Linked DNA regions of Homo sapiens: all the other regions are linked to region 4. The links are contacts of gene promoters, found by promoter capture Hi-C in blood cells and fetal thymus (Javierre and others, 2016). All regions are on one chromosome and are shown on one strand. Each heading gives the region's core, a stretch centred on a gene start or on the middle of the fragment in contact. The rest is flanking DNA. Distances are from core to core; before and after follow the strand shown. Region 1 overlaps GRIK4 (glutamate ionotropic receptor kainate type subunit 4). Region 2 overlaps GRIK4 (glutamate ionotropic receptor kainate type subunit 4). Region 3 overlaps GRIK4 (glutamate ionotropic receptor kainate type subunit 4). Region 4 holds the start of GRIK4 (glutamate ionotropic receptor kainate type subunit 4).

What was found. The method cuts DNA at HindIII sites, captures the fragments that hold promoters and counts their contacts. A CHiCAGO score of 5 or more calls a contact.
Region 1: a fragment that was not itself captured here is called in contact with the fragment with the promoter of GRIK4 in region 4 in 1 of 17 cell types (megakaryocytes); the score reaches 6.7 in megakaryocytes.
Region 2: a contact is called between a fragment that was not itself captured here and the fragment with the promoter of GRIK4 in region 4, in 2 of 17 cell types (megakaryocytes and M2 macrophages). The highest score is 7.5, in megakaryocytes.
Region 3: a fragment that was not itself captured here is called in contact with the fragment with the promoter of GRIK4 in region 4 in 1 of 17 cell types (megakaryocytes); the score reaches 6.2 in megakaryocytes.

The regions. Positions count from the first base shown.
Region 1 is chr11:120,713,222-120,719,737 of GRCh38, reverse strand. The region is part of intron 3 of GRIK4 (glutamate ionotropic receptor kainate type subunit 4); the gene reads right to left. Among named protein-coding and RNA genes, the nearest start is that of GRIK4, 200 kb to the right of the region's middle. The HindIII fragment of the contact is 7,357 bases long and covers 502-6,516 here.
Region 2 is chr11:120,658,891-120,665,319 of GRCh38, reverse strand. GRIK4 (glutamate ionotropic receptor kainate type subunit 4) reads right to left here. Exons shown (of 21, transcript NM_014619.5): 3 at 4,920-5,051. The coding sequence starts at 5,001. Among named protein-coding and RNA genes, the nearest start is that of GRIK4, 150 kb to the right of the region's middle. RefSeq lists an enhancer at 4,563-5,063. The HindIII fragment of the contact is 8,087 bases long and covers 1,010-6,429 here.
Region 3 is chr11:120,637,536-120,643,516 of GRCh38, reverse strand. The region is part of intron 1 of GRIK4 (glutamate ionotropic receptor kainate type subunit 4); the gene reads right to left. Among named protein-coding and RNA genes, the nearest start is that of GRIK4, 130 kb to the right of the region's middle. The HindIII fragment of the contact is 2,132 bases long and covers 2,116-4,247 here.
Region 4 is chr11:120,510,267-120,516,711 of GRCh38, reverse strand. GRIK4 (glutamate ionotropic receptor kainate type subunit 4) reads right to left here and starts at 4,964. Exons shown (of 21, transcript NM_014619.5): 1 at 4,825-4,964. RefSeq lists an enhancer at 1-455 and silencers at 4,894-5,093, 5,274-5,353. The HindIII fragment of the contact is 5,980 bases long and covers 1,794-6,445 here.

The DNA.
Region 1 (6,516 bases), core at 2,931-5,430, 200 kb before region 4:
GGAGAGAAGCTTATGTAACTATTTCATTTCAGATTAAATACCTCTTTACAGTGGGAGAAAGAGTATGTATGAATGACTCTGGACTCCTGAGACCTGAAGGAAAGGGGGAAGGGTCAGGGGAAGGGAGTGACGATCTGTGGGAGCAGCTCACTAGGCCTCTAGGAGACTGACTCACAGGCTGTATCTCAGATCATCTTCAAAACAACTGGGAAGCTGGTATCATCAACAGTCTGACTTTACCAGAAGAGGAGCACTCAGAATCCAAGGGAAGGTAGCTGGCCCAAGGTCACACAGGCAGTGAGTATCAGAGCCGATTTGAATCTAGATCCGTCTCACTCTAAAACCTTCATATTCTACCAGGTTATCTCTGGAAGGAAGCCACCTGGTTAACCCCTCACACACACTGCCTTCAGTTCCCTGCCTCTACCCAGAGCAGATTATAGGAAATACCACTTTATGTGTGGCTGTAGAAGTTGCTACAGCCTATTATTTTTAAAAGCTTATTTTTAATGAAGGACTCACCCAAGCATGCATAAAATGCTATGAAATTATTGATGGTGTCTCTGCAGAAGAATGTGAGATCTCTGATTTGTTGGATTTCTTTAAAATCTTGTTTATTTAAAATTCAAAATATTCATTATACACTTTAAAAAAAACTCAATTATGCAACTTACCAAAATAAAGAGTAAATGTGTATCTAAAAAAAACCCGCAAAACCTGTTGTTTTACTTCTTTAAGCCTGATTCTATACCTTATTCTAGAAAGGGGAGGGCCACCTTCTTTCTTAGCAAACCATTCCTATGGTTAATAACTCTTGTTCTTAAAAACAGGGCTTAGCCAGTCCTGAAACCATTCTGATTGTAGTCAGCAAGGGACTGAACGGGCAAGTACGACGGGAAAGGGTTAAAGGTCCAAGCATCCCTGAGGTATGAACCCAGGCTAAGTCAAGGCAGGACCAAGGTTGGTACTGGCAGGTCCTGGGCACAGGCAACAGCGGCCAGGCTGGCCCTCCCAGGCGGCAGACCCACAGCCCTGGACATCCACCTGCCCACCTAAGGTGACTTGGATATGAAAGTGCCTTGCTCAGCTTCAGCGTACAGACAATGCTCAATACATGTTGGATTCTCCCTCCTTCCTTCCATCTCAAGGACAGGATTGGTCCCATGCCGGGGCAAGGCTGTACTTGCGGCTGGAGGTTAAGTGTCCCTGGCTTAGAACGCTAGAGAGGAGAGTGGCAGGGAACCACATTATTATCCAGCGACACCAATCTCTTGTCTAACCCAGCCTAAATCCACTTGCGGCTGCCTAAGCCTATCTCTTCTTGCTCTGTCCTCAGGGAAAATGGAAACTGGCAAGTATCCTCTCCTGAATATGGATGCCTCCATGACTCAGAGACGCTGGTCACATCACTCCTCAGGCTACCGGGAGTTGGAGCTTTTTCTGCTGTTTCCAGAAAGCCTGGGTAAAGACGGGGAGAGGAGGGAGTGGCTGGGAGGTCCCTGATGGACTTACAGACTTGAGGGGACATATTAGGAACTCCAGGGCTGAGTCCTGTCTTTGCTCTTGGTGAGGAGAGGGAGGAACACCCTGGAAGAGAGGGAAGATGGCAGGAGGGAGAAGTCAGGCTTCTCAGCACCCAAAGCAACAAGCAAATGGACTTATGATCCTTTCCTGGAATCAGGTGTTGTGTCTAGACAGACACTTAAGGGGAAAACCATGGCACTGACTTAATTCTTTTCGGAATCTTTTCAAGCCCTCTTGCCACAGACAGCCGCCTCAGCTTACAGACGCGGGCAGGGAGGTACAGGCTGGCCATTTCCTACCCCAGCCTTGCTGGGAGGTCTCCCCATCCCCCAGCTGCTCAGCCTCCAGGAGGCCTAAGCCCGTGGAGCCTCAGCTCCAGGGAGAGCACATTCCTGCCCACAAAGCCCAGAGCTGGAAGGGCACCCCAGGCTGGGCGGCTGGGCTTCCCTGATCAGAATCCCACACACCCCCAGCAGGCTTTCCCCACCCAAGCCCTCTCTTTCTTCATCCCATGTAGTCTCCTCTCCTCACCTTGGTGATGCAGGAAGCAGGAGGATTCTTATTTCCCCTCTTGTAAGTAAGGAAATGAGGACCAAAGAGGTCAACTGATACAGCCAACATCACAAATCAAGTTCTCCCATCGCTTTTTTTTTTTTAAACTTTTAGGACTCAGATTTCCTGGCCCTGCGGTGTCTTTCTATGCAGGCTGGGACATGTGTGTTGGCAGGATGGCAAAGGAGATAGTGGGCCCATCCTTCTCCAATCCCTAAGCACTGCCAGATCCTGGGCATGCTCATCCGCCTGTGAGCAGGTTCAAGGGACAGGAGAAGTAGGGAAGAAGCCCCAGGGGGCAGTAACATCTCACCTCGTGATACTGTAAACATTGCCAAAGGATGCCCCACAGCAGCTGCCCTTCTGAAAGCCTGTTCCTGCAGCGTTGCCCACCACCCAGGTGTGTGCAGTTGCTTCCTCTGTCCCAGCCATTAGCTACCTTGCAATGGCTGTGACCCCAGCCTGAGGCTCACACTAAGGTGACCAAAGGCAACCAGTTCCGCGATGAGCACAGGGCACCTGGCCTCCATTTACAGGCATTCCGTCGGCAGGAAAAATCTCCTGGCTGGACCCCAAACTGCCTGTCAGAGCGACGAGGAGCCACCGCCGCAGCATCCTTTCCCCTCTTGGGTATGAAGACATCCCCACAGCAAATATTTAAAGGATTTGGATCCTAGTCCCTAAGCACGCCCTCTCTAACCATCTGAGCTAAATTCTCAGTCCATGGCTGTGCAAATAGATTTTATTACCAGGGCCCTGAGCTGATAAATGGAGTTCAGGGACAATCATGCTGCAGAACCACCCTCTCCTGTGGATCCATCCTTAGCACTCTGATGAGCAGAGCGGTGGCAGCTGGAAAAGGCTGTCTCTCCTGGAAACTTCAGGGAGAGAAGAATTCCTTCTTCTCTCACTGCTGGAAGGATTCCTGTGCAGAGGGAATGTCAGGTCAGGGGTGCTGGGGGCCTGGGATTCCTCCTCATCTATTTATACTCAGTTTCTGCTTCCCCAGCCAGGCTGCCAACACTTAGAAGGCAGAGACTGCATCTTAGTTCTCTTTGCACCTTTTGTACCATAGCTCTGAGCCTGCACATAGCAGTCACTCAATTCACATAGAGCGTAGCCAGACGTAGTGGCTCACACCTCTAATCACAGCACTTTGTGAGGCCAAGGTGGGTGGATCACTTGAGGTCAGGAGTTTGAGACCAGCCTGGCCAATATGGTGAAACCTCATCTCTACTAAAAATACAAAAATTAGCTGGGCACAGTGGCAGGCGCCTGTAATCCCAGCTACTTGGGAGGCTGAGGGGGGAGGATTGCTTGAACCCAGGAGGTGAAAGTTGCAGGGAGCTGAGATCAGGCCACTGCACTTCAACCTGGGCAACAGAGTGAGACTCCATCCCGCCCACCCACCCCCCAAAAAAATCATGTCAGGTAGTGAATGAGCTTTATAACTACAGAAATCCAGGTCTGGACTTCTGCAAATCAAGCTCTGGTTCCTTCTTCTCAGCTCTGATAGAGTCACTCCCAGTTCAGAAGCCTTAGCCAGCTCACCATTGCCTACAGAACAGTGGAGGCTCCGTACCCTCCCTGCATTTAGGAGTGCTGACATCAGGCTCCAGCCTGCCTGTTAGCCGCCTTCCCCCACTGCCCACATGCCCAGTTCCTGAACTACACAGAAGCCCACTCTCTGCTCAGGATGAGCCTTTGCTTGGGTGACTTCCCCCACCTGGAATCCACTGTGCTTTCCACCAAGAAGGGGCTCAGGAAGAATATGTTTAATTCATTTAAATTAAATTAAGGCTGGAACCCAGAGGAGGCTGCGTCCTATTTTCTGCTTCAGTCTCCCCAGTTCTATCTCAAAAGTGGGAACATTTGCCGCCAGTACAGCAGCCCCACAAAAGGGAGCGGGTGTGGCGCCCACGTGGCCTGGTGTGAAATGAAGCTGCAAACACGGGACGTTTTCTTCCCAGAGGTTTGGGGCCACAGGAATTTGAGAATCCCCAAGCCTTTTGCAAATGTCGTTCTCCATACCTGACTGGGAAGGTGTTGGTGGGGAAAACGAATGTCTAGAAAAGGAAACATGGAGGGGAAAGAGGAGAGAGAGGGAGCGTTGGAATCAGACAAACAGGAAAGAAAAGGAAAGGAACATGGAGGGGTGGAACACACTTTAGGCCAGGGGTCCTTCATCTGCATTCACAGAACAACCTCTAGGGGGGTTCATGAGCTTCCAATTGCTTTTGTTTCGTTTTACTTTGTTTTTTTGTTTTTATGAGACACGACCCACCGCTTTCCGACAACGGATGCTCAAACAGGTCTGTGATTCCAAAAGGGCTTCCTTTTCCTGAATTAATTGCAGGGTCGACTTTCTTGCCTGCCCTCGTAGGTTGGGGCTCCTCGGGACTGTGCCCCAGGGCCCCTTCTCCCTCCCTTGATCACACATATCCTTGGCTTCAATTATTGCTCCACAGATAAGCCGAATCCCAGCACCTGGCCCAGGATAAGCATTAGTGCCCCCGTGCCAGCAGAGATACAGTGAATTCCTATTTCCAGCCTATACCTGTCTTTTGAGCTCCAGTCCCACGGATGAAGGTAGTTACCTACAGGGTGGACACCTCCAGTGCAAAGCCCAGAGGCAATTCAGAATCAGCAGGACCCACACCAAACACCTGCTTCCTCCCATGCATTTGCCACTCTGCAGCTAAAGGAGTCTCTCCAAAATAGAAATCTGATCATGTCCCTCCTTGCCTGTAACTCTCCAGTAGCTTTCCCTTATACTAGGCTAAAGCCGAACCCTCCTTAACAAGACTCCTAAGAGCCTTTATGATCTGACCGCTTCCTACCTCTCCAGGCTCATCTGTTCCCACCTCCCCCTCTCCCTACATTTCAAAAAGAATCATATTCTCTCTTGACTCAGGCCCTGAAAAAGCACTGTTCCATGTCCCCTTCATCTAGAGTAACATCTACCTTTTATTTAAACTCCAGTCTCAGCTTGAGTCATTTCCTCTAGGAAGCCATCCTTAACTCCCAGACCAGGTCACAGGGCCTTGCTATGGGACGCTGTAGTACTTCATACTTCCTCTATTAGGACACATTTGATACTTTTCAGTAAGTGCTTAATCTTCTGTGTCCTCTCCCTAACCTCCACGAGATTTAAGTTCCAAGAAGCAAAAAACCACTTCTCCCCATGTACCACTAGATTCATAGCACATGGCTCAGTGCCTGGCACACAGTAGGTGTTCAATAAATAACTGCTGAAAGAAAAAATAAATAGCGCGAGTGGATTAAGAAAGGGAAGGCAGGAAGGAAAAGGTTAGTCCTTTCCTTCTGAAAGCCCCTCATCTTTACTCTGGCTTGCAATAATCACACGCACTAGCACTTTCCTTTCTCCAAAACCCCAGAGCTGTGGATTGTAAGTCACAATGAGCCTCCAGACTGGGTGAATTCCCGACATTATTAAAGTCACCGCTATTGAAAGGCTGGGAGAGCATAGCATACACTTTTGCATCCACATGGTGTCTCAACACAGCTAAGTCCTCAGTCATAACAACAGCAACTATGGATAGCACCTTTAGACTTTAGTTTACAATGTGCTGTCATAGACATTATCTCTTAAATAATGATGGAAGAGGAATGAGTGATGAGCCAGGATGAAATCCTGTGAATAATGCTGGAGAAGCAGGTGCTCTATGGTAGGAAGAGCAGAGCACAAGACCTGATTCCAGCCCCAATTCTATTCATGACTCTCAATGGGACTTTGAGTCCGCAGCAAATCCACTCTCGACTCAATTTCCCCCTCTGTAAAATGGAGAATTGAGCCTTCCTTTCCCTATCTTCCAAAGCTGCTGTGAAGAGATAAAGCTAGCAAAGCAGTCACCTAAGTGAACAGAACTATGAATATTCATGTTGTACATCTCTTAGGGCAACCTTAGCAACTGCGACTCATCAAGTCCCTCGTAGCCACCTCTCTACCTCACCGAGTTTCCCAGTTCCAGCCCCACTTGTCTTTCCTCCTCCCTTAAAAAATCCTCTGTAGCCAGAGAAGATAAAAGAGACACAGCTACATCTATTACCTCCTACAAGCTACGGTCATAAATCCCATTGCAATTAAACCTCGCCTGGTAAAGAGCTCTAAGCACAAAACATGCTGGTGCTTTCTGCATTTGCCAATTACAACATGACAATGACTGAAGAGCCCAATGTCAGTGACGCAAGGGTGGCCCCCCTCTGTCTTCCTCCTGCTCTCTTTATGGAGTTTACCTGCCTGGGTTCGGGGGGCTTTTCAGGTGCCAGGAATGACAACCCACAGAGCATGCTGATAAAATCTGCAGAGGGCACAAAACTGGGAGGGGGTGTGCTTAGCATGTCAGGTGGCCGAATCCAAACAACCAATGAACAGCAGAATAGAACGCTGAGAGAAACCAATCCAGTGAAATCTTGGAT
Region 2 (6,429 bases), core at 3,804-6,303, 150 kb before region 4:
CATGCTGATCAAAATTTCATAAATCAAATCATGTGCTAACATGATCAGAGGAGCCCACTGCTCAAACAAACCCATGGTGAATCCTCTACAAGGCAAAGAATTCAGCTGGTATATTTGAATCTCGGTGGATTAGATGTATTTAATACACAGCATAACAGGATAAGAAACTGGTGTTTTTTATCCTTTTCCCTTGTCTCCCCCAATTCTCCTATTATCTTTATCTTTATAACATTTCAATGTTCTATGTTGAACATTCTCCGTACAGAATTGGAGCTCATTGGGGGGAAACCAACTAAGTAAAAAATTACAGTTATAAAGTGCTTGGAGGGTCCTCGTAAGACAGAGTATAAAATAAATCCAAGCTCTTGCTGCTTTACCACACAGGGAAACCTTAAACAAGAGAGATTCAATTGCTGCAATAACCTGCTGATGTGTCTAATATGCCCATGCTGAGCAGAACTTCCCTTGCCACCTCGACTGAGCCCTGAAATCCCCATGCCTCAGTTTCCTCATCTCTCAACTAGACTTTGTGCCCTTTAAGAAATGCTTTTGAGGTAAAAAGTGTCCATAAAAGAGCAGGAAACTATATTAGCCATGATGATTCCATCTTTCAACTCCTTACCAGCAGAACACAATGTATTTAATGTGATGGCTGTGATAATGGGATATCCCAAATGTTTCCAGGGGGTCATCAGCTCTAGAAGAGCAGGAAGAGACAGCTTTGGAGACAGGTTCAAATTTCACTAGCTGTGTGACCTTAGGTTCGTTATTTAAACCCTCTGAGCCTCCATTGCTTCATCTGTAACAGGGGATTGTTTGGTCCAATGAAACTGGGTGAGATATGGGGAATACTTAGCCCAGTGCCAGGCAAAGAATGGGAGTTATTATTTTGATTATTATTGGTAGCACTGCATCCTCAGTGCTTGGCACATAGCATTCAATAAATATTTGTTGAGTTAATTAATGAATGAATAATTGTGTCATTGAGTTTATTATTACTGCCAAAGCTTTCATTAGAACCCAACCAGGATCTTCAGCCCATTCCTATTCTCTTTTAAGTAAGACAGACAGATGGACATTTTCTCCTTTTCCTCTTTCTCCTTTCTCTTCTACTTTCTCCAATAAGTTTACCTCTTTATGCATAGGTAAGACAGTGCCATTTAAAACAATGATACCAAACATGTTATTGGAAAACCCAGTCTTGCAAGAACCATGGATTCATCTATCCATCACATTCATTAAACTGCACCCATATACTTCTTTGCATCATGTGTTGGGCCCTTCTGTTGGGGATCACTCTCCCATGGAGTTCAGAGTCTAGTGGGAAAATGCCATAATCTTTAGAATATAACACGGCAAGTGCTGGAACAGATGTTATGTGCTGGGGGAATGGGGGAATGGTAGGAAAAAGATGAATTCTCCCTCTTACGGACAGGATGATAACGGGAAAGGACTTTGCAGAGGAAGAGCCATTTAAGCTGATGGTGATGGAGGAGGAAGACGAAGAAAAAGAAGAGGAGTAGAAGGAGGAGCTGGATTTGTTTTGCAGGCAGAGAAGATGAAACGGGAGGAAGAGCACTATAGGGAGAGCAGGGGAATGGGTAAAGCTGGGAGTAAATCCTCCTGGTATATTTGGCTCACAGGGAGTGGTTTAGTGTAGGTAAAATACAGAGCCAAGGAAGGAGTAACAAGAGGTAGGCTTGGAGCCTAGCGTTCATTCAGTTAACAAATACTTAATGAGTCTCAAGGTGTTAGGGGCAAGGGTAACACATTTGCTAATGTCTGAAATGTTTTCTGAACAGGAATGGAGGAAACTGTAGGAGAATATAACCTTCACATACTATTGAAGGTGATTCTGCTTCTCAGCAGCTAAGGGAGCCCATGGGTGCATGGAGAAGAGAGCACTGGAAGAGGAGTCAAGGATACCAGCACCAGTGTCAGCTGCCACCAGCCAGGCCCCTACTTGTCAGGTGACCTTGGCCAAACCACTGCCTGCTGTGACCCTGTTTCCTCATTTGCAAGATGAGCAGGTTAGATAACGAATCCTTACAGTCCCTTCCGGATCTAAGAATGACAATGATCTCTGGTCTCTTTAAGTAATGAAGGGGGTGCAAAGATGGGGTGGGGTCTCCTCAGGGCATTTATTAACTTGTGGCTCCACAGTTATCACTCAGAGGACCCAGAGGGACTGAAGCAAAATCCAAACACATTTTCAGAAGATAGATGATGGAAGGGGTTGACATATGTGTGAGAGTTTGGGGAATTTATGCAGCCAGCCTCACAGCCATAAATAAAATCCCTTTCTTTTACCCAAAACCTCATTCGAGGGGTAAACACCAAACACTGTAATAGACAATTTGGCTGTATCTCCTGCCCTGTACCTCACTTGAATGAAAAACAGCCATCACAAGGCAGGGTAATGGGTTCGGCCACCTCTTTCCAAACATCCATATTGTCACCAGCAGACAAGTGGGGCTGAGGATGGAGCAAACAGGGCGATTTATCTCTCAGATCCCTGGTCTCTTCATGCAGCCCCATTCAGAGAGCCACCCATTCTGAGGCTGGGGTTGGGGAAAACCCCAGAAAAACTCAAATGCAAGGAAAAGTGACCCCTGGGAAGGCGAGAGGAGCAGCAGCCCCTTCCCTTCCCATAAGCCTCTCAAGGACCCCAGAGACCCCAGCACAGTTAACGCCAGCCCAGCCCATCTGCATGCAAGGCTGCCTGCTGCTCAGCACAGCTACTTGTGTTTTCTTGACCCACTTCTCTTCCCATCCCTGCGCTACTCCACATCCCCTCTGGAGTCCATGTAATTAGCAACTTTCCATCCATAAGGATTGGGAGATTTTAAAAAGCTCCTGGCACTCAGGCTAACCAAGGAGACAGGAAGAACGGGTCCTGGCACTGCTGTTTGGGTTTTTCTTTTCTTCCCTTTCTGTTGGCTTAACTCTGCTTCCTGGCCTCTGCAGGAGATTAGGCCCGGTTTGACCTTGCCAGCCAGCAGGGCCCCTGGCTGGAAAGCGGCTGGAAGTGGCCTAGCATGAACCAAAACTGAGGGCCAGCAGTCTTGACAGAGCTGAACAAGCATTGTTCAGAGTATGGGTTTGGGAGCACGAGGGGTGCCTTTGAAGCCCTCTGTTGTGGCAGCCAAAAGAGGGACCTGTCAGCTCCGCTTTCTGCTTCCCTCCCAGAGCACAAGTGTCGGGAGAGGCGAGGCCATGAGGTGCTACTGATTCTGGCTCAATCCCTTTCCGCTTCCCATTAGCGACAAATGGAAATTGATGGGTTGCCACTTTATTCACTCATTTAGAGAGGGAGAAGACCTTGCAGCAAACGCTGAAAAACTATAGGCATCTTATAAATTAAACATCTTAAGGATATGAACCGTTTTGCATTGCTGCTAAGCAGAATTAAATTAGGTTTTGAAGTTTCTGTAAAAATGAACGGAGAAGAGGGAGGGAAAATTTTGTTTTTTAATTTCTTTTTTTTTAAGCATGCAGAGCAGTGTGTCGAGGGCAGGGTGAGGGGGAGAACTGGGTCACCTGTCCACATTTCTGATTCCAATCAGCTCCTCTGCATTTGCATGAAAAACTGTGCCCACAAGGTAAAACGAAGCAGCTCACAGACCTGCAGGCTGGGCTTCCGGCCTGTGACCCCTGGCCTAGCCAGGTTTTGGCTGCTCGCCCACCTCTGCCCACACCATGGCCTCCTGACCATCACCAGCACACCGACCTGAATGCAATTGGAGGAATTTGGGAGCTTTAAGTCAGCTCCCTGAGATTCAGCATCGTGCCATCTTTGCTCTAAGTCAGCCTCTAACCCTTTCAGGCTCAGGTTTAAGATCTAGATTCCTGCCTTTGCTCCCACCCCCAACCCCACCCCCAGTGTGGGAAGAGGGGCCTCATGTGGTTATCCGTTGGGGTAACCTGCCTGGTATTTGAGTTCCTCTAGGGCTGTCACTTAACTCTACCCTTGGGGCCCTGCTGTTGGATGGGTCGTCTTGTGGCCATCAACCTACCTTTCTGGGTTTGTCACTGCTGTGCCCCACCCACCTGTCCACACTAATCCCCATCCCCCGATGTACACATAGACACCCCTGATCCCCGACACCCCACATCTGTCCTAATTCCATGGGTTCTCTGTTGCTGGGCCATCAGATGACCACACTGCGCCTGCCGGACTGAACTGTGTCCTTGTCCCTGTGGCTGGCTGTGTCCCCAGGAACCAGGATCTAGAGAGCCTCAACCTGCAGTTGACAAGTCTTGTTCAGTCCCAGCAGGGAGGAGGCACCTGACTTCCCAGACCCGCCCCTCCAGGGATGGGATGCTGAGGGCTCAGGTGGAAGCCCGCCTGCCCACACCTAAAGTGGGCGTCCCACAGCAACAAGGCAAGGGAGAGACTCACATGACCCTGCCCTCCCTCTCAGAGCCAGGCCACAGCAAGCAGACCCAATGTCAAGGGCCCTTCCAAGCAGCCAGGCCACGCCAGCAGACTCCTGGCTTCTTCCAAGTTGTGGACATAGCACTCTCTCCAGGAAGCCTTCTTGGACTGATCACAGGAAAGAAGGGACCTCTTCTCCCATCTCCAGCCCTAGATTTGGAGTCCCCATGGCCATCCTCACCCTCCTTTTTCCCCGACAGCTGCCTCTTAACCTGCTAGGCTGAACCTACATTGACTGCACTAGGGAGTTATCAGCATCTTTATTCTAGTGGCCGGGGAGCTCAGCAGGTTGACCAGATCGGAGTGGTCACCTGTCAGCTGCCTCCACCACCACCACCTGCATGTTCACCCCAGCCACACTCAGGGAGGGCACAGTGCACGGGCTGGGCAGCTTCCCCAAGTCCTGTGCAGCACTCTCATGTCCCTTGTGGACACCTGGGATAGTGGGTGGGGGCACTGCCCCAAGCTGGGCCACACTTACCGATCCTCAAGGAGTGCGGGCTGCAGGCGACCATCACGAGCCACGCAGGAAGCAGCACCAAAGGCGCCGAGACGCGGGGCATCTTCTATGAATCCTCATGGAGCCCCCTGCTGGCCTGGGCATGACATAACTCTGCGAGAGAGGGGGTTGGGGGCACGTGAGTCCCAGGCTCCAGCTAGGCAGCTGCCCCACCATCCCAGTGACACCCAGGAGCCGGAGAGGCCCCTTTGTCTTTCCTCCTTACATGCCGGGCTCAAAGAAGGCTCAGGTTCTAACTTCAGCTCTGTGACCGACATGGGGCAGGTTGCTGTAACTGTGGTTGGATGATTCATGGCGTGTCATTAGAAATGAAGAACCTCATCTGCTCGCAGCCAGGCACAGTGGCTCACGCCTGTAATCCCAGCACTTTGGGAAGCCAAAGTGGGTGGATCACTTGAGGCCAGGAGTTTGAGACCAGCCTGGCCAACATGGCAAAACCCCGTCTCTACTAAAAATACAAAAATTAGGTGGGCATGGTGGCGCATGCCTGTAATTCCAGCTACTCGGGACCCTGTGTCACAGACTTGAACACAGGAGGCAGAGGTTGCAGTGAGCCGAGGTTGCGCTATTCGCCATTGCACTCCAGCCTGGACGACAGAGCGAGCCTTTGTCTCAAACAAACAAAACCCTCATCTGCCCTTAAGGAATTGGAGCCATGGGTGAGCAGAAGAGGAAGGGATGGGAGAGTTGGGAGGGTTACTCCATTTCCCCAAACGCAGCACAGGCACTGCACACTGAGGAGAGGTGTGAGAGGAAACTGGGTTCAGGCCAGCTCTTCCACTTGCCAGTTGTGTGGCCTTCACAAGGTCCCCTCTGTGTCTCGGCTCAGTGTCCTCACATGTAAAAGTACTATAACAACCCCTCCTGGTGGAGTTGAACTAAAGAAGAATCAAGGTAACATCGGAGAAGCCACCATGCTCAGGGTCTGGCCTAAATGAGGTGCTACATAAATGTCAGGTCCTCCCTGGCCCAGATGGGAGCGGTCCATTCCTAGCAAATATGGAGAGCAGACACACACCTCCCAGGTTATCAGCTGCTTTCCACATCTGCTCTACTACCGCTGAAAACCAGCCCCACCCCCAACCTCTACCAATCCCTCTCCTCCTTCCTGAGGTGGGTGGGCCTCTGATGTCAAATCCAGAACCTTGCAGGGAGCTGCCTCTCCCCAAGGCAGCACGTGCCTTGGCCCCCACTGAGACCCAGATTCTGCCGACAGCCAGCTCTGCTGGCTTCACTGGGGTGAGGGTGCGGCTGATGAGCACCTGGATATGCTAATCCCAGGTGCCTGGATTGGGAGAGTAGTATTAAAATGTTTAATTTTAATACAGACTCACGCCTGTAATCCCAGCACTTTGGGAGGCCAAGGCAGGTGGATCACGAAGTCAGAAGATCAAGACCATCCTGGCTAACAGGGTGAAACCCCATCTCTACTAAAAATACAAAAAATTAGCCAGGTGTGGTGGCAGGCGCC
Region 3 (5,981 bases), core at 1,932-4,431, 130 kb before region 4:
TACACCAACCCCCAATATCAGCGGTGGGCCTGCTATGCTCCAGGCATTGTGCTCTGGCAGATACCCTGATGTGCAGAGTCCACAGGCAACGCTGGGTCCCACGGTGCCTCAGGCACACCCTGCACATTCCCACCTTGGGGCCTGTGCTTGAGCTGGGCCCTGGACCTAGAACACGTTCCTCCAAATAGCTGACACACTCCCTCACCCTCTTCCAGGCCTTGACTCAAATCTCTAACTCTCAGGGGGCTTTCATCCTTGCTACCCTGCTTTATTTTTTTCTTTTTTCCATAGCACTTATCCCCTTGTAGCTTGTTATATAATTTACTTATTATATTTCTTATTTATATGAGTTTCCCCTCTATACGCTTGCTAAAGAGTAGCGAGCTCCTAGAGAGCAGGGATTTTGTTTGCTTTGTTCTTTATGGGTCCTAAACACCTAGAACAATGCCTGCCATACATAGTGGGTGCTCAGTAAATGTGTTGAATGAGTATGGGAAACATGTGAGCAGTCACGGTGTTAAGATTAAACACTCCCAGTGCAAGTGGAGGCTGGGTGTATTCTGGGAGGGGGCCATGGCAGCCAGGCATCTCCTGTTTCTACTGGGGGAAGTGCAGCCTCAGGAGCACGTAGATTTAATGCCTCCCTATTGAATGTTATAATAATTCAGAGACAGAGGCAGCATGAGAAGCTTCCTATTTGCAATGTTCTGACAGCAAACAGATGAGGTGAGGAGGAGGACGGCAGAGAATTTCAAGGAGTTCTCATCCTGGACGCAAGGAGAACCCAAGGCCGCTGCTGGCCGTGGCTGAGCCCCGCTGAAGGCAGGATGCCAGGCTCTGCTTCCCAGCACATCCTGAAGGGACAGGAGTGCCAAGGAGAGGGAGAAGATGGGGCCTCACAGCCTGGAAAGTCAAGAGAGATGAGAAGAGTGAAGCCTTGGTTCAGAAGATGGGTCCCAGGACCTCACATCCGGAAGGGAGCTTGGGGACCACCTAGCATAGATTCCTTACTTCACAGATACAAAAAAAAAAAAAAAATGCCCAGAGAGGGAAAATGACTTAACCAAGGTCCAGAGTTTGTCCCAGAACAGGTTCTAATACCCGCATCTCCCAGCTGCTCCGTCAATGTTCTTTTCGTGATAGTACTGGCTCAGTGACCTGTTTTGTTTTGTTTTTTCCCTTACAGATGGAGGTCTTACTCCATCTTGCCCAGGGTGGAGGGCAGTGGCATGATCATGGCTCACTGCAGCCTGGACCTCCTGGGCTCAAGCCATCCTCCCACCTCAGCCTCCTGAGTAGCTAGGACCACAGACACACACCACCACACCTGGCTAATAACTTTTTTAAAAACTGTCTTCCATAACTCAGCACTGTATTCCGTACTGGGGACATAGCTGTGTGCAAGACAGATAATGTGTGTTGGGAAAAACACACAGGTAGCCATCAAATCCCAATACAAAGTGGACAGTGTGATCACAGAGGATGTTTCCTGGTTGCCATGGGAACACCGGAACAGAGCACCCAAACCAGGCTTGGGAAGCGGGGGTGGTCAGAGAAGACTCCTCAGAAGAAAGAACATTTGAGACCCAAACAATGTTGGAATCAGCCAAAGCGTCAGAAGTGTTTGAAACAGAGCAACTGCATCTTGAATAGGAGCTGGGTAAAATGAGGCTGAGACCTACTGGGCTGCATTCCCAGGAAGTTAGGCATTCTAAGTCACAGAATGAGATAGGAGGTCAACACAAGATACAGATCACAAAGACCTTGCTGATAAAACAGGGTGTGTGGTAAACGAGCTGGCCAAAACTCACCAAAACCAAGACAGCAACAAAAGTGAAGTCTGGTCATCCTCACTGCTCATTATATGCCTATTATAATGCATTAGCATGTTAAAAGACACTCCCATCAGCGCCATGACAGTTTACAAATGCCATGGCAACATCAGGAAGTTACCCTATATGGTCTAAAAAGGGGAGGAACCCTCAGTTCTGGGAATTGCCCACCCCTTTCCCAGAAAACTCATGAATAATCCACCCCTTGCTTAGCATATAATCAAGAAACAACTATAAATATACTCAGCCATGTGGGCTGCATTGCCTATGGAGTAGCCAAGCTTTATTCCTTTAGTTGTTTTTTTTTTTTTAACTTTTACAGTTCAATTTACTATATAGAAATCACTTGGGTTTTACATTTTCAGTTAACTTTTGAACTGAGATTACAATATTATAACAAAAAAATCTTTATACTAATTCAGGACTTTTTAGCATACCAAATTGAAATACACAGATTCAAATTTCAGATTCATGGCAAACAGTCTTCAAATACAATACAGACACTTCTTAAAGTAGCCATATCATTCACATGTGATATTTGCAACTCTGAGATGTTTCACATAGAACAGCTCTCCTGCAGATATGGCAAAGTGGCTATGCCACGAAGTTCAAAGCCTGTAGAGTCAAGCCAAGGACAAAGTTGCACCATCGTTAAAAAGGTTTAGCATTTCTGGGCCGGGCGCGGTGGCTCACGCCTGTAATCCCAGCACTTTGGGAGGCCAAGGTGGGCAGATTGCCTGAGGTCAGGAGTTCAAGATCGGTCTGGCAAACATGGTGAAACCCTATCTCCACTAAAAATACAAAAAAACTTAGCTGGGCATGGTGGCATGTGCCTGAAATCCCAGCTACTCAGGAGGCTGAGGCAGGGGAACTGCTGGAACCAGGGAGATGGAGGTTGCAGTGAGCTGAGATCGCGCCACAGCACTCCAGCCTGAATGACAGAGCGAGACTGTGTCTCAAAAAGAAAAAAAAAAAAAGGTTTATCATTTCTGGACCACAACAATGCACAACATGTAAAGAAGGCAGGAAACAGTTCTCCCTCCTTGTTATGGTTAAAAGAAAGTTACATGGCAGCTTGGAATTTTGCATAAAACCCCATATTATACCTTGAAAAAGTCCAAGGGCAATTTGATGGTGATGGATTGGGGTCTTATTTTTTTTTAAATTAATAGAACCCATGAAATTCAAATGGGCATTAATTAATTAAAAAATATTAAGCACCTACTGGTTTAAGAGATTTAAATTTATTGGAGATTCATAATCAATTTCTTTCCACCTTGAAATCAAGGTATAAAAACCAGCTATTAAGTACATTCCAAACTTCTATGTGGCACAGGTAGAATTTTCTGTCCATTGACACCAAAGTGAAGTCACATTTCCTCTTGGGAGACAGAAATTCCACACCTGAACATAGAGTAAGTTGGGAAAAAATGACCCCTGTTACTACTATTGTGATTCTGAGATCTAGGATTACTAATATACTGACAGTAAACAAAGCAAATTCCTGGCAACAACTGTTGTTCCTTTACTTTCTTAATAAACTTGCTTTCACGCTACTCTATGGACTTGCCCCAAGTTCTTTCTTGCATGAGGTCCAAGAACCCTCTCTTGGGGTCCGGATCAAGACCCCTTTCTGGCAACAAATGGGAAGCAGAGGGATGGGAGGAGGATGAGCCCATAACTGGAGGGGACAGGAGACAGGGATCTTTCCTGATCCAAAGGCAATGAGGGGTGCTGCCCTGGGGGAATAGGATCCGGGTCAAAGATGGCTCCACAGCAGCCATGCTAGGAAGTCTAGATTGTATTCTAGGGGTACCAAAGAGCCACTGAGATTTTTACATAAAGGGATGACATAACCAGAATTTCTTATGGAAAGGTCACTCTGACTGCAATTTGAAAAGAGTTTTAGAGGGTTTAGGTCTGGAGTCTGGGACATCCATTGGGTGGGCACTGAAGAGGTCCTGGAGACAGATAGACATGAGGAAGGTAGAAGTGGCAGAGGAAGAGACGTTTGCATTTGCGAGCTTTTTAGGAGGTAGAATTGACAGGACCTGGGGATCAGATGTGGGTCGTGGAGGAATGCAAAGCAAGGATGCCTTCCAGGCTTCCAGACTAAGCACCTGCCTAGAGGATGGAGTCACTTACTGAGACAGGGGCCGACCCCAAGAGGAGAGACTGCGAGACAGGGGAATGACTTCCCCAGGAGATTAGAGGAAGGAAAAGGCAGGGAGCAAGGGATAGTGAGCCCAAGGTGCCAAGAGCACCTGTGCTGTGTGTGTAGCGAGATGAAGAGCACAAAAGCAGGCCCCGGGGATTCTCCCATCCAGAGCTCAGATGGTTCCAGGATAAGCTCCAAGTTCACCTTTCCACCTCTGTCCATTGCGCCCCTGATGCAGCTGAATCTTAGGGCAAGCTTGTGCTTTGTAGGCTTTGACCACTGGCCAGACACTGACCTCTGCTTTTATTTTTATTTTTTATTTTTTATTTTTTGAGATGGAGTTTCACTCTTGTTGCCCAGGCTGGAGTGCAATGGCGTGATCTCAGCTCACTGCAACCTCCGCTTCATGGTTCAGGCAATTCTCCTGCCTCCACTCCTGAGTGGGCGATTACAGGCGCCCACCACCATGTCCAGCTAATTTTTTGTATTTTTAGTACAGAAGGGGTTTCGCCATGCTGGACAGGCTGGTTTCGAACTCCTGACCTCAGGTGATCAGCCCGCCTTGGCCTCCCAAAGTGCTGGGATTACAGGCATGATCAGGCGTGGGATTATTGCTCCAGGCCTGACCCCTGCTCTTGTAAGGTCAAGGGCCACCTTGGATAGAAATGATATTAGGGCACAGAAAAAATAGTTCTAATCCCTGAAAAAGGCAGGCCCTTGCTCACCGTGCCGCTTTAGAAGATATCACTGGGCCAGGCGCGGTGGCTCACGCCTGTAATCCCAGCACTTTGGGAGGCCGAGACGGGCGGATCACGAGGTCAGGAGATTGAGACCATCCTGGCTAACATGGTGAAACCCTGTCTCCACTAAAAATACAAAAAATTAGCCGGGCATGGTGGCAGGTGCCTGTAGTCCCAGCTGCTTGAGAGGCTGAGGCAGGAGAATGGCGTGAACCCAGGAGGCGGAGCTTGCAGTGAGCCGAGATCATGCCACTGCACTCCAGCCTGGGTGACACGAGACTCCGTCTCAGAAAAAAAAAAAAAGCAAAAGAAGAAGAAATCATTGAGAGGTAGCAGAGCATGAGGATAAACATCATGGACTCTGAAGACAAATTCTAGCTCCACCACCAACTAGCTGTGTGATCCCATGCAGGTTACTTAACCTCTCTGTGCCTTGTTTCCTACATTTGGAAAATGGGGATACTAATTCATTTCTCCAAAGGGGTAGTAACTCTACCTCTCTGTAGAGTGTTAAGAGTTTTAAGTGGGTCAGTATTTGTCAAAGAGCTTAGAAGAGTGCCTGGCACATAGTAAGTGCTATATAATTGTTAAATTAATAATAAAACATGACCAGGTATAGTGGCTCATGCCTGTAATCCTAGCACTTTGGGAGGCCAACACAGGCTGAACACCTGAGGTCAGGAGTTCGAGACCAGCCTGGCCAATGTGGCGAAATCCCATCTCTACTAAAAATACAAAAATTAGCTAGGTGTGGTGGTGGGTGCCTGTAATCCCAGGCACTCAGGAGGCTGAGACAGGAGAATCACTTGAACCTGGGAGGCGGAGGTTTTAGTGAGCCGAGATCACGCCATTGCACTCCAGCCTGGATGACAGAGCGAGACTCCCTCTCAATAATAATAATAATAATAAACATATGCATAAGCTGAGGGCTTAGATGCCATCACTCTAGGAACAAGATAAGTCAGGGTGGGAGAGGTATGGTTCTGTAGGCAAAGGGGCCCAGGAGAAAGAAGGGGCATTCTGCAGTGTCGGCTTTAAGCACCCTGGCACACCCCACTACGGAAAAAACCTGGGCAGAGACAAATGAACATTTAAACCAGCTTCAGCTTCAGATCGCCGCAAGAAATAATTATTCTGGGTATGAATCTTCTCTAAGAAGTAATATTTACTTTGGAAACACAGCAACTGCACCCCACATGGCTCGCTGTTGCTGGAATCTGAGCAGCCTCCACTTTACTAGGGGAAGCAGTC
Region 4 (6,445 bases), core at 3,715-6,214:
CAGCGCGCTCTGCTGTTCTTGAAAATGTCATTCAAGCTTACCCCCCTTTCGCCTCACTGTCACCAGCGCCCAGGCCCAGCCCTCAACCCGCGCTTCTGCACAGCACTCCTCTGCCCACGAATCTTCACCGGCTCCCCCGAGCCTGCTGCACTGACCTGAGCCTTCTCTGTTTGGTGGCCAGGGCCCTCTTGGATTCCAGCAGTTCTACCCACCCCGTCTACCGTGACAATCCGCTGCTCCCTGACTCCAGCCTTCTGCTGCACACGGGACTCTTCTCCCACTTGCCTCGTCCTGTGCCCGAGCGCCCAGTCCTCAGATCATCCTCTCTCCCCTCATCCTGCCTGCACAGCCCCTTCTCAGCCTCCTCACTGTGAGTCTTCCTTCCCCCATTCCTGAGCACCCCTGCCAGCTCCTGCCAGGTCTGAATGCTGGTGGCAGGTGCAATCAACACACACGCCATGTTCCCAGAGACCGGGTGTCTTGGTGTGCTATCCACCCAAACTATCACCCTGTGGGAGAGAAGGGTCCTGCCCACCCCCCAAACAGGGGACTCCACAACCGCCCCATCCCTGCTGGGCTCTGTGTAAATGACTTGAGTGCTCAGTTGTTTAAAGAAAACCTGTGATGAATCAAAAAGTGTCTCCCTCTTGGTTTTTAAGGCAGAGGATGCCCAAGTGTAGGGGAAGAAGCTGGGGTCCTACCGCACTCACCAGTCTGGGATGTGGGACAGAGTGTGTGACCTCCTGGGACTCCCTTCCTCATCTGTGGAAAAGGAGATGCCCACAGCTAACTCGCCGGGTAGCTGGACTGACTGAGCGAAACAAACGGAGTACGCAGTCAATACAATGTTACATTGATTCCTTCCTTCCTTCCCATAATTTACCCAGCCTGCAACTGTGGCATAAGTTTTTTGTTCATACTGGATTTACTAAATGTAAGGCATACCCTATTTTATGTAACAGAACGTTATAATCAAGCAACAACTATATCTTATGTCCTTACTATGAAGAGGGCCGATTTACAGGATGTTGAAGAACAGCCTCGCTCTGCTGGGAGTCAGAGAATGTGAAAAGGTGTCAGGCAAAGGCCTTGCTCCTCCAGGAATCTGCCCTCTGGGTGGGGAGACAAACGGACAGACGATTACCAATACCAGGTAGGAGCAGGGGGCTCAGCCAGCCCATACAGAGGGAGAGCAGAAGGCGGCCACTCAGAGAATGTGCCCTCCATACCCATGCAGGTGCCCTTCACACTGGACGAGTCACACTCCCACTCACATTCCATGCTGCTAACCCTCTGAAGCAGGTGAGATTTATCCCCATTTTACAGGTGAGGCCAGTGAGGCTCAGAGTCCCCATTTTACAGGTGAGGGCAGTGAGGCTCAGAGAGGTGAGGCAACTTGTCCGAGGTCATGCAGGGAGTGATGTGAGGACAGGAACCCAGGTCTGCCTGATACTTGGTAGCTGGAACTGGTTCCTCTTCCAGCAGCACCTTGAAGGCTGGGCAATATATGGATGGGAGGAAAAGAGGAGGAAATGCAAAGGGCCAGGGTGAGGACACACAGTGCCAGGGCTGGGTGGCCAGGGGAGGGGGGACAAGATCATGCCAGACACCACGTTGTGACATAAAGTTGGGGTCAGCGTGCAGAGGGCCTTCACCTGCAAGGCATCTTGGAAGGCACTGCCACTGACGGCTGCTGAGACAGGGTCCCCTGTGAGAAGCGTTACCCTCTGTAAGAAGACAGGCACAGCGGCAGGATGGCTGGAAACTGAGGCTGGAGGCCCAACAAGGAAGCTTTCAGGACCGTAACTCAGGGTGAACAGCCAAAGGCCCAAGTAGGGACCACGGCAGTGGGAGAGCAAAGGTCGGAGTGGACACTCGAAGTGCCCAGAAGAACTGAGTGGGCTGAGGCCTAAGGCACCAGAGAGAGGGAAGGAGGGTGCCCCAGGCACCCCGGCTGCATGCCTGGGGGAACCCAGCCGTTCTTTCCACAAGGAGGAGGCAAGAGGCAGTGCCCACTTGGGGTAGGGGGTGGTTGGTTGGGTCTAGGGAGTGGCGGGACACCCAGGCAGCCAGTCTAAGGCTGAGGAGACTACAGAGCAAAGACTCCACCAGGCCTGGGGTGGGGGTGAAAACGGTGAGCCATCACTGGAGAGGGCGAAGGGGATGAACTGAGGAACAGGCAGGACCAAGGGTGGGCTTTCTGAGAACCAAACAGCTGAGACCTTAAAAAGCAACAGCAACGAGCCCAACAGCACTGGACTGAGCGTCCAGGGGCCTGGGACCCAGCTGTGGAGCCTTGGATGAGGCATCCAGCCTCTCTGAGCCTCAGTTTCTGTTGGGTCATGAATGCCTCCTTATAAGGCTGTCTGTAAGGAGCGATCAGATGCTTGCAGGGCTGTAGTAGAGATCAAATGAAGTAATTGTTCTGAGAGGCATCTGGAATGCTGCAGAACCCCATACACACATAAGGGATTAGTACTATGCAGAAGCACCAAGAGATGCATCCTTCCCACACACGCTTGGCGCTGCCCACCCTCGCCAGCCACACAAAGGCCAGCTTCCGCCTCGCTGCTTCTCTTGCCTTCTGAGCAGTCTCTCCCCCAACCCAGGGCCGGTCCCCCTGTCCTCCCTTCCATCTCTGGATGGCTGAGAACCACCTCAGAAGCAGCTGAGCTCCTCTCTCCTGGATGCCCTGACTCCCTGCAGCTGGGACTTTCTCCTAGAGTCTCTGCCTCTCTCCCGGTACTAAAGTTCCCTCTCCATCCTAAGGGAAAACCAAAGTGGAAATCAGACCACGAAGCCGACCCAGGCTCTCGGAAGAATTTTCATTGCTGGGGAAGACAGCAGCCACCGATCAAGATGCCCAGGTAGGGGGATGGGAAAAACACAGAAAACCAAGATCCCCTCTCAACCTCCCCTCCCGAGCATCCACCTCTTCCCCACCCGGAGGGACCAGTGCTGCCTCTGGGTTTCAGGTGGCAGGTCCAGAGGAGGACAGAGGGGTGGAGCTGGTGAGGCAGGCGGGAGGCTGGTGGGCAAGCCCGGGCCACAAGGAATGAACAAAATATGGAAAATTAAACAAACCCAGACACTGTAATGTGTGCATATTAGATTAACTCTCCGAAGGGTCGTGACCTTGAGGAACACATCTGGCCAGTGAGAAAAATAATAAACCTGATTAATGATGAAGCCTGAGCTGCAGCTTCAGCAAATAAAGCCAGCATGATGACGCCCAGTGGAATTCCAGGGGCTGCCATCCCTGGTGGGACCGGAACACAGTGGACCTCGACAAGCCCCTCGCCCCTGACCACGCGAGCACAGACAGTCAGGGAGTCAGGCAGGACCGGATTTGTCTCTCAGATGCCCACTACCAACCCAGGCGGCCTCTCTCCCCGGAGATACCACGCCCGCAGTTTCCCGGTGCTCCTAGAAGTGTCACTACCAACCAGGTGACCCATAGGGAGTGAAAGTGAAGGTAGTTCTTTGTTCCTGGCAGGGCTCAGTCCTCCTGACCAGCCCTCAGACCTCTTGGCCTGGTCTTGACAGCTGCCCACTGCCTGGCAAAAGGGCCCAGCTGTGCTCAGAGCTCCCCTCCTCTTCCCAGACAACCCAGACCCTTGGGAGACATGCCCAGGAGAGCCACTGGAGGGAGGCAGGGAGGTGGCACCGCGTGGCATCACCAGACAACAGCACCAAGAGGAAGATGGCAGCATCAAGTACAGATGCCAAGAGCCACGCAGCCCAAGGTCCAGCCCGGGAGTGGCTCGGCCCGCATTGCCCCACCACTGCCAGGCAGACGGGCCAGAGGCGCCCGGGGCCCAGCCCCCTCGGCCGCCTCCTCCACCACCCCAAGGCCCTCAGCCAACTCTCCCCAGGCTCCAACTCCTCCCCTCACTTTGCTCAGCTCAAGGGAGCCAGGGAAAGAGACACAGGTGCTCTCAGTGCCTTGAACCCCCTGTCCCAGCTGTCGCCTGCACGCCCTCCACCCCAGCCAGGTCGGAGCGCACAGCTCTGCCAGTCCTCACTGAAGAGAATCTAAATCAGCTCCCCTCCCCCTCCGCCCCAGCCCCCTCCCCCATCACGCGCCCATTGCAGGTCTCTAGAGTTTCTCCCTCACTTCCCACTCGGATGAACTAGGGTGGGATGGGTGGGAGCCCCATTCTCCCCGGGAAAGAGGATCATTTCTGATAGGACGCTGGTTCCCCCAAGCAAGGCGGTGTGCAGGGTGGGGGGGTGTGGTGGTGGCCCGAGTCCAGTGCAGGGGCAGGGGGCAGTCGAGGCAGATGGCAGTGAGGAAAGGGGGAGGGGGCTTGGTGGGATGCCAGGCTGAGCCGGGATGGGGGGCTGCAGCCGGGGAACAGAGGCGCTGGGAGAAGCGGAGGGTGACGAGGTGTAGGGGAGACGCGCCAGGCTGGGAAGGGGCTGTCATCCCTGCAGGGGACAGAGGCAGGGCTGGGAGTTGCACGGGGAGGGGGAGGACCAGAGCGGGAGGACCGCGAGCCCGGGGAAGGGATGCGGAGGGAGGGAGACGGACCGGGGTGAAGACTGGAGGAACTACGGGAGCAGAGCGGTGGGGGGTTCGGCGGCGAATCTGGAGACGCAGGGACCGAAGTGCCAGGGACCGGGCTGGCGGGAGGCGGGAGCGGGGAGGAGGGCGCGGGGGCGGGGGCCGGGGCAGGGGTGCGGGGCCGCGGCCCCCGAGGGCAGGAGCGGCGGAGACGTCAGAAGTCGGGGTGCGGGAAGGGCCAGCGCGGAGGGGACTCGGGGGCGCGGGGGCAGCGCAGGGAGCGGGCCGGGGGCGCCGCGGGGGGCCGCTGCCCTTACCTGGTCGGCTCCGCACTCCGGGGGCTGAGCCGGGGGCCGGGCGCTGCCGGGCCGGCCGCGGGGCTGCTGTTGGCCGTTTTTCCTCTTCCGCAGCAGCCGTGGCGGCTCCAGCCCGATCCGCCCGCAGCTGAAGGCAGTCTGTGTCCGGCTGCGAGCGAGCCCGGCGCGGGGAGCGCGGGAGGAGCGCAGCGAGGCGCGGGGCGCCGCCCGGCGGGCAGCTGGGGAACTGCTGCGGCCCCGCGCACGGCCGGCCGGGGGGGCGCCCCTTCGGGGCCGGGCCGGAGCCCCGCGGGCAGCTGCACGCGCCCCCCAGCGCCCCTCGGAGCGTCGCCCGGGAGCCCAGGCGCGGGGGCGGCGGGGGCGGCGGGAACGGCGGGGGCTGCTGCGGGCAGGGCGGGCGCGGGTCCGCGCGGCCGGGGGCAAACTTGCGGCTGCCCGGGGGCCCGGGGCCGAGCGAGAGGCGCCCGGCTGGGGAGCGGCGCCCGGCAGAGGCTAGGGGCGCGCGGCCAAGCGGGCTCTGCGAGGTACGGACCTCAGGTGGGGAACCCGGCGCAGCCCGCACACTCCACCGCCCTGCGCAAAGGGGCAGCCCGCCCCGGCCCCGAGGAGTTATTAGCCCGGCGGCTTCAGCGAGCAAGGGGCGCCCCCTGGTGGCATTCGGGAAACAGCGCGGGGGACGAGCGTGCCCCGTTAGAAGAGACTGCGGCCTCAGTGGTGCGGAAGATGGAGAGGTGGAGGTTTCATGGGACGAGACAAGAGCACCTTGTTCAGGAGACTGAAGAGCAACAGCTTGCATGGAGTCATTCCAGAGCACTGTTGTATACATACCAACATCTTGGGAGGATCTCATGTTACGCATGAAGATCCTGAGGCTAGGAGAGGTGAAGGGACCAGGCCAAGAACACACGGGGAGCAAGTGGCAGGACCCAGGAGGCAACCCCGCTTTCTGACGCGCGGTTCATTTCAGTACACCGTGTGGTTCATCCTAATACAACAGAGTTGCCCTTAGGAGGAGGCTGGGTGAAGAGGGAGTCCTGGGGGAATAGGAGGGAGGGCAAGGGACACGTGACCCCCTCAAACCTATTAGCTCCCTCTTATCCAACCCGCAGAGTCTCTGTCTTGGGCAGACCACCAAACTGATCACACCGGCCCTCTCACCTTCAATGGCCTGTATCCCCACACCCAACCACCAGCACTCCCACAATCTCATTAAGCTCTCTGTGAAGGGTTTGTTCACAGACGTCCTTGGTCAGGTCTCACGCATGAGGCATACTATCGGGACTATAGACTGTTCTGGACGTTGCATTCCCCGGGGAGGGCTGGCTGGCTAGCCTGGGCGCGTACTGGGCCTCCTGCTTCAGGAGTCGTGCCTATCCCTCCCCCAGCTCCACACACTGGCTGGATGAATGCCATATGCGAACAGGGCTCCATTCCTCCAGCCAGACATTATTTAGCACCTACTGTTTGCCAAGACTATACCGCTTACACAAGTGTGATTCCCAATAATCAACTTTGCAAGGTAGGTGTTGAGGTGACACTAGTCCCATTTTACAGAGGATGTTAAACCTGTTAAGGTTTAAGAGCACCTGTAAGCCAGTGACACAAAACTAATTTCTAATTC